3 separate regions of the Homo sapiens genome follow, and all the other regions are linked to region 1. The links are contacts of gene promoters, found by promoter capture Hi-C in human tissues and cell types (Jung and others, 2019). All regions are on one chromosome and are shown on one strand. Each heading gives the region's core, a stretch centred on a gene start or on the middle of the fragment in contact. The rest is flanking DNA. Distances are from core to core; before and after follow the strand shown. Region 1 holds the start of ENAH (ENAH actin regulator). Region 2 overlaps ENAH (ENAH actin regulator). Region 3 holds the start of TMEM63A (transmembrane protein 63A).

Evidence for each region. The method cuts DNA at HindIII sites, captures the fragments that hold promoters and counts their contacts. A contact is called where the count stands out against the background at its distance.
Region 2: a contact is called between a fragment that was not itself captured here and the fragment with the promoter of ENAH in region 1, in 1 of the 25 tissues and cell types used here (aorta).
Region 3: the fragment with the promoter of TMEM63A here is called in contact with the fragment with the promoter of ENAH in region 1 in 2 of the 25 tissues and cell types used here (heart left ventricle and psoas muscle).

What each region holds. Positions count from the first base shown.
Region 1 is chr1:225,651,857-225,655,806 of GRCh38, reverse strand. ENAH (ENAH actin regulator) reads left to right here and starts at 2,684. Exons shown (of 14, transcript NM_018212.6): 1 at 2,684-3,121. The coding sequence starts at 3,117. RefSeq lists a silencer at 2,705-2,834. The HindIII fragment of the contact is 16,817 bases long and covers 1-3,950 here.
Region 2 is chr1:225,509,789-225,513,294 of GRCh38, reverse strand. ENAH (ENAH actin regulator) reads left to right here. Exons shown (of 14, transcript NM_018212.6): 8 at 279-424; 9 at 581-638; 10 at 1,436-1,484. Among named protein-coding and RNA genes, the nearest start is that of LINC02765, 44 kb to the right of the region's middle. The HindIII fragment of the contact is 3,476 bases long and covers 1-3,369 here.
Region 3 is chr1:225,879,970-225,883,818 of GRCh38, reverse strand. TMEM63A (transmembrane protein 63A) reads left to right here and starts at 1,439. Exons shown (of 25, transcript NM_014698.3): 1 at 1,439-1,515. RefSeq lists enhancers at 521-570, 631-680, 2,883-3,833 and silencers at 1,191-1,350, 1,911-2,030. The HindIII fragment of the contact is 9,047 bases long and covers 1-3,849 here.

The DNA of each region.
Region 1 (3,950 bases), core at 1,435-3,934:
ATAAGAACAGCATTTTCCACTTGGATTGCTTAATTTGGTGCCCATACCATTGGAACATTTGCTGTTAGAATAAAGATGATGTGATATATCACTTATTTAGCGCAGGATGGATTAACTTTCACAAATGAGAAGTAGGTTATGGAGTCATCTGTAAGGAATTTTTATCCTTGTTTCTTGTGTCTGGCAGGAGATAGCTTGAGTCATTACAGCACTCTCTCCACCCCTTTTGGCCCTTTGTAAGAGTTTTCCCTGAAACATAAGCTCTGTCGGATTTACTGTATTGCTATGAATGGACTAAGGCAAATTGGTGTGACTTCTCTGTGGTCGAATATGTTTTATTAATACTTTTCCAAGATGGTTCAATATGTCTTAATTTTTCCAAGAAAAAACTCTCCACAGCACATGTTCAAATACTTGAGGTATGTGTTTCAAACTACAGGGAGAAACTTACGTAAGACAATGACCCTCATAGTTGGTAGCTATGATTTTTAATCATGCCTGTTGCACTAATTGATCCAGTTACTTGAGCTCTATGTTTCCCTGTCTCTACTTGCAATATGGCAACTAGAACATTTGACTGGCAAGTTTGTTTTCTCTCCAGTGGTTGGAGATCCTTGAATAAAATGCCCTCTGTAATGGTAAGCTGTAATTAGATATGTGGGTGGAAATTAGCGTTCTTCAAGTACACCATGTTTAAGGCAGAGGCATCATGCTTTCTACTACCTGAGGCCACCTTGATCCTCTGCCATAGCTCCGGGTCACTGCTTCTATAGGGCTGTTGGTCTAAGGCTGCCGGTTCCAAAAAGAAAATAACTCGGTATTGAGCTCTGAAACCAGGAATTTTATTTATTTATTTATTTATTTATTTATTTATTTATTTTTTAGATGGAGTCTCGCTCTGTCACCTAGGCTGGAGTGCAGTGGTGTGATCTGAGCTCACTACAACCTCCTCTTCCCGGGTTCAAGCGATTCTCTTGACTCAGCTGGGATTACAGGCGTGCACCACCACGCCCGGCTGTTTTTTTATTTTTTATTTTTAGTAGAGACAGGGTTTCGCCATGTTGGCCAGGCTGGTCTGGAACTCCTGACCTCAGATGATTCGCCTGCCTCAGCCTCCCGAAGTGCTGAGATGACAGGCGTGAGCCACCGCACCCGGCTGAAACCAGGAAGCTTTTTTTATGGTTAAAAATGGGCTACACAGTTCAATTATAGACAAATCAGGCATTGACCACGGATCACTATAACCTGTCTTTTCATTTGGAAGTGTACATTATCCCAACCTTCCTAACTATCTTTTGAATGGTACCTGCATCTTAAAACAAAACACCAAAACTTTTGAATGGATTCCTGGAGTCATGGTAGGTCCTCCATTTTGGATGAGATCCTTCAGCAATAGGATCCCTGTAGCAACAACCCTTTTCTATCCTCCTCACCTTTTATACAGAAAGTACATCCCTGTCTTCCGGACTAAAAGGGGGCCGTAATTCGTACAGTTAAAAATTTTATTATTGGATTTGTTTTTAGATTTAAAAAAAACCGAAAACAAAACCTTCAACAACGATCAATTCTGGCTTCCTGGATGCCCTCCTCCCCGACTTGACTTGAAATGAAATTGCCTCGCCAGTATTTTATATCTACTTTTTAAGGGAGGTGACTTCAAGACCATTGGGAATGACGAAAAATTTAAAATTATCATTAGTTCCTCTCTCTCCCCGCCCCCTGCCCGGGATTCCCTCTTTGCTAATGACGCTGGAAAGCGGCTCCACTGGCTGCGTTTCTCTTCTTCCACTCTTGCGGCAACACACTGTTCCGCGCGCGTCTCCCGGCGACTGCGTTTCCCCGAGAGTCGGCTGCGTTCGTTTGGGGATGAAGTCATCCCTATACCTAGTGTGCACATCAACTCGTTCCATCGGCGCAGCACGCTGGGATTCCTCGGGAAGAAAAGGAGCGAAGGGAACAATGATGACCATATTTTCCATTTATATGCCCCTCCTCAACTCCGCAGGAATCGCTGGGCGCAGCCGCGGCGAGGGCGGGCAGTTGGGCTGACCGGGATGCCCCCCGATTCCCTCATCCCCGTCCTGAGACCGCAACAGGGCGGGCTGAGCACTCGCCCCGCGCGAGGGCACCCGGCCGCGAGCCGACCCGGAGTCTCCTGGCCCGGCCCTGTGCCCAGTCACGCGTCCAAGCTCCCCACGCCGGTGCCTACGGGTCTGGCGCCCAGGAGGTCTCGGCGCCTCGGTCTCCGCACCGTGGCCGTGGGGGAGGCCTCGGAGCTCCCCAAGCCTCTGGGGAGCGGGAGGCGACGGGGAGGGGGCCGACGGTCAAGGACAACCACGGGCGAGGAACCCCGGCCGACAACTGGCCGGAGGTGTTGGGCGGGAGGGGGGGGTGGTGGCCCGCCCGAATCCCAGAGGGGTGCAGGGGGCGGGGTAGGGAGGCAACAAAGAGCCTCTCTCCGCCGCCGCCGCCGTCGCGCTCGCTCTCTCCCAGCCTCGCTCTCCGCAGTCCGGCGGGGGCCCGGCCGCCGGCGCGGGGGAGTGCGCCCGGCCCCCCGCCTCCCCTTTCCTCCCCTCCCCCCGCACCGCCCCCTCGCCCCCGGGGGAAGGAGGGGAGGAGGGCGGCGCCTGCGTGTTCCTCCGCCGCGCGCCCCGCCTCCTCCCGGGTTCCTCGCGGCGATCCCGACTCTCCTCCCGCGGCTGCAGCAGCTGCCGGTTGCACACGGCCTCGGCGGCGGCGCGGCGAGCGCGGGCCTGTGGAGCGGCGGCCGGGCGCGCGGCCCCGGCGGGCACCCCTCAGAGGGCGGCCGAGGAAGCTCCGGGAGGAGGAGCAGGACCACGAGGAGGTGGGAGGCGGCGGCCGCCTGGGGACCAGCTCCGCGCCTCGGCCTCTCCGCCCCCTCCCCAGCCTTTCTCTCGCCCTCTTCTCCCACACTCCCGGCCGGCGCCTCGGCTTTGTGCGAGGAGATGGTGTAGCCCCCTGGCCGCCGAAGGAGGAGCCGGACACTTGTCTCCCGTCTCCGAGCTGCTCCCCACCCCTGGAGGAGAGACCCCCCCCTCGGCTCGGCGCCTTCTGCGTCTCCCGGCTGGTGGGGAAGCCTCTGCGCCGCCGGCACCATGAGGTGAGGGGCGCGCGGGGCGGGGGCCGGGCGGGCCATTGTGCCGCGGGAGCCGCGACCCCCGTTCTCCTCGGACCCCGCCTTCCCTCTCCCGGCCCGGCGCGTCTCCCCTGGTCTCCGGTCTGTTCCTCCCCCCTCCGCCTTTTGTCCCTTCCAATTTCTCTTTCTTTCTTGGAAACCTCCCCAACCCGTGTGGTTTGGGGGTCTCGCTTCATCGTTCTCTCATTTTTCCTCAAATGCTCTTCTTTCACCCAGGATTTCCCTTCCTAAATTTAATTTGCGCCTGGCTCCCTCCCCCAAGCCTTTGCAAGCGAAACCCGGGAGATGGGGAGGGGTTCGAGAATCGAAGCGTGCGTGTTGCTGGGAAACAGGTATTTTTTCGTATATATGTAAAAATTTCATGCACTTTTGCCTCCGAACTCTCGTGTTTAATTAAAAAAGGAAGAAAAGTTTGAAAGGTCTGAAATCTCTGCGGGTAATAAAGTGCCTCTGGTAGGGGTAGGTGAAGGAGCTGTGAAAGGTGAAATTTCACGATGGTGGGGGAAGGGAAAGAATTGATTAGGTTCACGTGGTGGGGGCAGTAAAAGACTGGGATAAGTAAGTTGGTAGGGGTGTGTAAGCGGGGGCGGGGAAGGGATCTGTTTGGAAAAGCCTTTTCTCCCCTTTCTCTGTAGCAGCCTGTGTTGCATTGCAGCAGCTGCTTTTTCCCTTTGCTCTGTACTCAATAAAACAGGAGCTAAATTATTTTTGCGGCCCCGAAGAATTGAATGTACTGTCGTAAAATATTTTTTTAATTGATACGATGAAACATATGGTATGATATTTTTCTTTA
Region 2 (3,506 bases), core at 382-2,881, 140 kb after region 1:
GCAGGAATATTATCAGAGCAAAGTCATGCCCTTTTCATGGCAGCACAGGAAGAGATACATGATACTGTTTCATTGCATTCTTGGTGATAGTAGTTTTGATAAACTCTTGTTGATATATAAAGTCATGCTAAGAATCTATTGGTTCTTAAAGCTTAAAAAATAATATTTAGGTTTTTTAAAATTAATGCTGATGTTTCCTTCTGTTTTAGATGTAATATATTAATAAAAATATGGTTGTCTAACATAGGAGTTGATTATGTCTGTATATTCTCATTAAGATGGAGGATACCTCTTTCCCAAGTGGAGGGAATGCTATTGGTGTGAACTCCGCCTCATCTAAAACAGATACAGGCCGTGGAAATGGACCCCTTCCTTTAGGGGGTAGTGGTTTAATGGAAGAAATGAGTGCCCTGCTGGCCAGGAGGTAAGGAATTTCATTATAATGGACATGCCCAGAATTGAGAGGATTTTAATTGTATTCCAAATACAACTAACTAGATGCACTTCTTTCCTCGTAGAGAAGTGGTTTTTATACTGAATCAGATAATATTTTTAAAAATCGGATTTGCCTTCTTTGTAGGAGAAGAATTGCTGAAAAGGGATCAACAATAGAAACAGAACAAAAAGAGGACAAAGGTGTAAGTTAATAAAGATAGTCTACCATACCTTAAAATATGGAATTCAGGCACAGCTCATTCAGGAAATAGTGTCAGCATTTATTTAATTTGGGCTTAATTAGTTTGAACTTATATTTGCTAATTTTTAACTATGCATGTGAAGTGGCTTGTTTTGACTGTTATTTATAAATTTTTAATGGCAGTCTTAGTAAAGTGAGTTGAATATGTGAAATTATGGGAAAAGCATTGAAGTTCAAACCTGTGGAGTTTAATTCTGTTCCTTAAATGAGTGAATGACATTTCACTACTTTTTTCATCTCTTAGAATCTCAGTTCCCTTGCATTAATTTAAAAGGAAGGAATTCGCCTAAATTCATATGTTTCCCTTAGGAGCTTGATGGTTATTGGCTGTGCCCCTTCAGAGTGTAACCTTCATGCCCTCCTCCCTGATTCAGCTGGGCAAACTCTGCTTTGTCTGTGCTGTATATTGGTGTGCAACAAATAATATGTTCCCCCTGCTCCATCTGGCCACCTTAGATGCCATTCCTCAAATCTGTCTCTCGTGTCTGGCTTTGTAGCATTGGCTAGTGAAAGTTCTCAAGGAGAACACATGAGGAAAGGAGCTGTGGGGAGGGTTGAAGGGAAGATGGTTGAAGACAGGAGAAGAAAGTCTAAGCTGAAATGAAAGGGAGAGAAGACCGATGAAAGAGAAAGTGGGGAGTGGCAGAAAGAATATTAGAAGTGTTCGTGTAAAACACTAAATGTATATAGCAACAGGGGACTGGTAGATGTGATATTAATATATATCTGTATATTTAGGAAGATTCAGAGCCTGTAACTTCTAAGGCCTCTTCAACAAGTACACCTGGTAAGTTCAAGATAAATATTTTAACCTTTATAAACTTTCTCTAAATATTAATACTCCCCAGTTAAAAATTCCCCCTTTCCCCATATTTGGACCAAGTGACTGGACACTAAAATGCCAGAGTTCTTTGTTCCCACCTGAAAGCATTCACTTTTTTCCTCCTGGAAGCTGCTGTTACTTTCTTGAGGTTACTTACTAAAACAAGGAAAATATTAATGTACTATTAGATGACAAGAGTATTTTTCATAATTGTTTTTCTAGAGGTAAAAATAAAGTGAGCATGTTAGTTAGTACTACAGTCTGCTTCAGAACATTCTCAAATTGAGAAGGATGTCCTAGCCATTCATTTGGGTGATATTGATAATTAAGGGAATAAAGTTTCTGATTTGTAAACTTAAAAAGTCTCCTTAAAATTTTGGGGAAGTGTTCTTGAATTCAGTGAAATTTCTGACATTGAGAATTCTTGAGCATCTGATAAATCACCTAGAATATTAACAAAAGTATATTTCACTAGAAGTACTTGATGAGTACTGTATCCAAGATGAGAATACGAACTCATTACATATTCACATGTTATTTCTTCATATTTGATTAAAGACTAAGGGCTGGACTATCTATTGAACTCCTTATCTATTCTGGAATGAAATGACATAAATAAACTTGATGAGTTAATATCTAGAGTGGTCCATAAGAAACCATTATAGAGAAATGCTTATATTCCTACAGTTTTGATTTAAAGACAACCAGCTGCATCTACAGTTCCCTTTTTAATTTTCATTTTTTTAATTTTTTTGAGATGGGGTCTTGCTCTGTTGCCCAGGCTGGAGTGCAGTGGTGCAGTCTTGGCTCACCGCAACCCCCACCTCCTGGGCTCAAGTGATCCTCCCACCTTAGCCCCCCAGCCCCCTAAGTAGCTGGGGCCACAGGCACATGGCACCACTCCTGGCTAATTGTTTGGATTTTTGGTAGAGACAGGGTTTCACCATGTTGCCCAGGCTGGTCTCAAACTCCTGAGCTCAAGTGATCCACCTGTCTCAGTCTTCCAAAGTGCTAGGATTACAGGCGTGAGCCACAGTGCACCACCTAGAATTCCTTTTTTTTTTTTTTTTTTTTTAAGTACCTCTGAAGTTTTTGTTTTTGTGATTGTAATCCATCTTTTCACCACTCCCCCCATTCCTCATTCTTATTATTAAATGGTGACTCTTCAGTAGGTTGATTGCTATACCATAATTAACATCATGGCTTTGTTTTCCCTCTGAATAGGACTCAGTTTGTTATTTTCATTAAAAATTCACTGGTTTGTGACCCACTTATTTTAGCTTTATCCTTCTTTCTGTAAGCCAAAATTAATTGTATGTACTCTCATTAGTACCGCATAGATGTTGTAAATCCGAACCATATTTTGGGCTCACAGAACCTTTAGAATATGATGAGAGCTATAGATCCTCTTTCCAGGGAGGAAAATTGTATTTTTATTCAGATTTGTTCATAATTTCAGAATATTCATGAATTTCTTGAAGGTTATCCATGGACTCCAAGTTAAAAATTCCTTATCTAATATATAATCCCTTATATAAAATATGAAAAACTAAGGCACAGGTTTTGTGTGTGTGTCATATATATAAAATCAAAAAGGGCAGGGCCTGTTTTCTCACTTGTTTCATTCCGTTTTTAAACTGACATTGTGTCAGGCACCTGAAGTGAAAGGTACAGGTCCTAAGCCCAAAAAAACTCATGGTACAGCTGGGAAGATGAGACACACAGGTGTGAAGTTAACCTTTTTACAACCACTTGTTGAATACTAAGTAGTGTGTCACAGAGGGAGGAAATGACACATACGAGTCACCTGAGTCAACTTTGTAGGGAAAAGTGACATCTTAGTATTCCTTGAAGAGTATTTAGTTTGGCTGAAAGTGAGGGGAAGGTGTGATATTTCAGGATGTAAGTATAGCATGAGCAAGGTATGGAGTTGGAGATGAGCAAGAAGAGATTAGGAAATAGGAAATAGACTAGAACGGGGAATTC
Region 3 (3,849 bases), core at 190-2,689, 230 kb before region 1:
AACTGAGAGAGGCAGGAAGAGACCCTCCCCACCCCACTCCTGGACAGCCACAGACTGGCGCTAGAATCAGGGACAGGGAGGTAAGGAGGAATTTTTTTTTTTTTTTTTTTTTTTTTGAGACAGAGTTTCGCTCTTGTTGCCCAGGCTGGAGTTCAATGGTGAAATCTCAGCTCACCGCAACCTCCGCCTCCCAGGTTCAAGCGATTCTCCTGCCTCAGACTCCCTAGTAGCTGGGATTACAGGCATGTGCCACCACACCCGGCTAATTTTGTATTTTTAGTAGAGACGGGGTTTCTCCATGCGGGTCAGGCTGGTCTCGAACTCCAGACCTAAGGTGATCCGCCCACCTCGGCCTCCCAAAGTGCTGGTATTACAGGCATGAGCCACCGCGCCCGGCCATAAGGAGGATATTTTTATGCCGTTACAGAAAAAGATGAAAGCTCAGAAATGGAAGGGAGGTCGGAGAACCTGCAAAGGCATGCATGTGGGGTGAGGACTGCTCAGAGCTCAGAGAGGGGTGCTGGAAGGGACCTGAGAGGAAGCTTTGGTCCAACCACTCATTTCACAGATAGGGAAACAGGGGCCTGCGGACGGGTTGGTTTGCTCCTTGATTCCCAGGGCGCGCGGTCCTCCCCGAACCCAGCCTCGCTTCCCGCGCAGCGCCCAGCAGTCCCTGGCGCGGCGGGCCGGCCCTGCCCTCGCGAGCTTGCGGTCCGGTTGTGGAGGCCACCGGCTCCCTGGAAACATTTGGCTCCCGGCCGGGAGGCATGCCGCGCTCTCGGACCTGGGCTGGAGTAGGTGCCCTTGGCGGCCCTGGCTCGAGCAGTAATGGACTAGCCCCAGGGGGCGTTGGAAATGCTGCGACCCGCCCCCACATTTTTGCCCGAACGGAGACCCTCCGGGCTTTCACGGTCCGGCCTTCTACAGCGGCGGGGGAGCCGTGGCCTCTTGCAGGGCGCTCCGCGCGGTTCCCGACTACCCGGAGCCGAGGTGCGGGCTGAATCCTGCTGAGCTCCCCATGCTACCACCCCCGCAACCCCACTCTCCCGGGGCGGGTCTAAGAGCTCTTCGGGGAAATTCAAAGCACTACAGGGACCAACGTTTGCAGATGCTCTCCCTGCGCCGCGACCACCCTGTGCTTGGCCCAGTTCTCCCGGAGGCGTCCAGAGACTGGGCTCGTGCCGGGGGACGGAAGAGGGTGCGCCCCGGCGGATCCCTTCTTGGAGCCTGGACGTGAGCTGGCCGGTCCGGGGCTTGCAGACCTCCGGGAGGAGCTGCGGGGCTGAGCGGCGACCAGGAGGCCAGGCCGGGGCAGAGGACCGCCGAGGGCCACCGCGGGAGGCGCAGTCAGCTGCGTACAGGCTTGCGCCGCCGCGGGCCAAGACTCCAAATTGGGAAAGGGGTGGCCGCAGCTCTGCGCATGTGCAGGAGGCGCCGGAGTTTCACTTTGTAACTTTTAAGTGGTCGGAACACGCCCCGCGCTGCTGGGTCCCGCCAGACACGCCGCCGCCGCAGGTACAGGGGACAGGGGGCGTGAGGAGGGGCAATGCACCCTCCGCCTTTCCCGGGACGTGCGCGCCAGGTGTCCGGTTCCGGAACGGCTCCCAGCCTACGCAGACCCCAGAGCCCCCGACCCCAAGCAGGGGGTGACGACGCGGGATTGGGTGGGAGGAGAGGGTCCGGGCAGCGCCTCCATTCCAGCCCTGCGCTCCTTGGGAATTCCTGGCGGCTTTTCAGGACTTTCCTCTCCGGCTTTTCGCTTTCAGGGCTGGTATCTCCTTCTTCCCCACCCCTCTCTTTGGGATTTGTCGGCGGAGTCCGACCTCCCACCTAACTAGGAGTGCAGCTATGGGCTCCTCGGACCCTATACGAGGCCGGGCTGGGAAAGGGCCAAGCGTCCGACTCTCCTGACGCCAGGAAGGCAGAGGCCACCCCTCGGGCTGTTCCTGGGTGACCACTTCCTGCAGCCTTGGCGGAGTCCTGAGGAGGGAGGCTGGGGACTCGGGGACTGGGGGGAAGGGCGGGGGCGGAAAGGGTGAGGCGAGCTCTGCTAAGAAACCAAATCCGCAAAGGTTCCAGCACCTGATAAGACTAGCTACCTGAGGCCCTGGAGGGGCCTTGGTCATTCAGCCCCAGGCAGGTGGTGTCCTCTTCAAGGGCAGGGGTGGACAGCGTGGCGGACCCACTGACCCTCCCTTGACACCTCTCAGGTCATCCTCAAGTCTGCTGTGCCTTCAAGGGGGATATGAACGGAAGCCGAGGCTCCTTTTCCCTTCACACGCCCCTCTCCTTTGTTTAGTGTGGGGGCAAAGGTCTCTCCTAGCTGTTCGTTGGGCTCTAACAGAGAAGACGTCAGGTGGGATCCTGCCCTTGTGTTTCCCATTAGCTGGAGGGGCGACTTAAAATAAAGGCAGACAGCTTCTAATTGCTTGCTAGGGCCGGGTCCTGGGCTAAGTGCTTTACAGGTGTTGTTTGGGATCTGTGCCTCCCAACAGCTCCGTGAGAGAAAGTCATCACTCGCATTTCCTGGCGAAGGAAGCCAAGGCACAGAGTGGTTAGGCTGCTTGTCTGAACTGCGTGGTGCTGAGACCCTAACTCCAGAGCCTGCTCACATAATCCCTGAGCCACACTGCCTCTGGTTTCAGCCAGGGGCTGTGTCATTTCCTTTGTGCTCCAGGGTAGGAGGTAAACAGTTGTCCAGGTTACTGGGTCCTGTTTGGTGTTGCCATAAGGAGAAGTTTGTACTTTACTTTGCAACCTTATTCTGCATCTGAAAGACCAGAGTTAGCTCCTGAGGCAGAAGGCCTGGAGCTGCTTGTAGTTTCGCTATTGTCATCACAGGATTGAAAGATTTGGTGATGATAAAATTACCCTGAATTTGTACGGGCCTTCTTGCAAGAACGAACAATATCCATATACTTCCTGCAACATTCTGCTGGTATTTCTAGAGCTTGTCAAGTTGACCACCAGGCCAGTCCTTGCTGCCAATGGAGACTGGCAGTGGATTAGCATAGGTAGTTTACTTTGGCAAATTTAGACCAGCTGTTGGATTTAGCCCTCTCCCACTGGCCACAATCAGACGCTTGCCTGCACATGGGTTGAACTTTGGGTTGGGAGCGTGAAGTCACCTGCTGCCCACTCTGGCTCTTGGGCCTCAGCAGTAATTCTTGGCTTTCCTACCCTCGGCATATTGAGTAGGAATAAGGGGATGAATGGAGAATTTCTGGAAGGCACAGGTAAGTGCTAGGCATTCACATACATCTAGGATGACTGAATATTGCCAGGGGTTCTCAGCCAGGCAGTGCCACTTCAACCACAGTGCCTAGCTGCTGGTTTGGCCTCCTCTATACAGCTGCCAGCTGGGTGCTCCCCTCCCCCTGCCTTCTCCTCAGCCTGGCAGCACTGTCCCATGGTGTCTGTGTTCCCAGCTGCCTGCTCAGAGCGTGCCTGTTTGTGAAAATGCAGAGGAGCTGTCCCATGGAGAGCCAGAGGGACGGAGCTGTTTCAGGGGGATCTGGACTTTATGTGTCTAATGGGCAGGGACAGGCTGGGACTGAGCTGAAAGGTCTGAGAGAGATTGTGGGTCCCCAGAGCTCTACCCTAACCTGGGTGCTCATCGGAGAGGGCAGACAGGACTGGCCACCTGACCTTACCTCCGTCTCAGGCTGATAGTATTTGCTAGCCACCTCCCTGAGTTCATATCAAACTTTGTCAAACCACCCTGGGAAGCCTATTTGGCAAGAGACAAGTAACTTAGAGGCATGACTGGGGCTGGAGGGAGGGGGAAGAGGAGCCGCAGGTGTTTCCCTCCGCAGAGGCCTCTCTCCTCTGCAGCACTGGCGAGGGTAT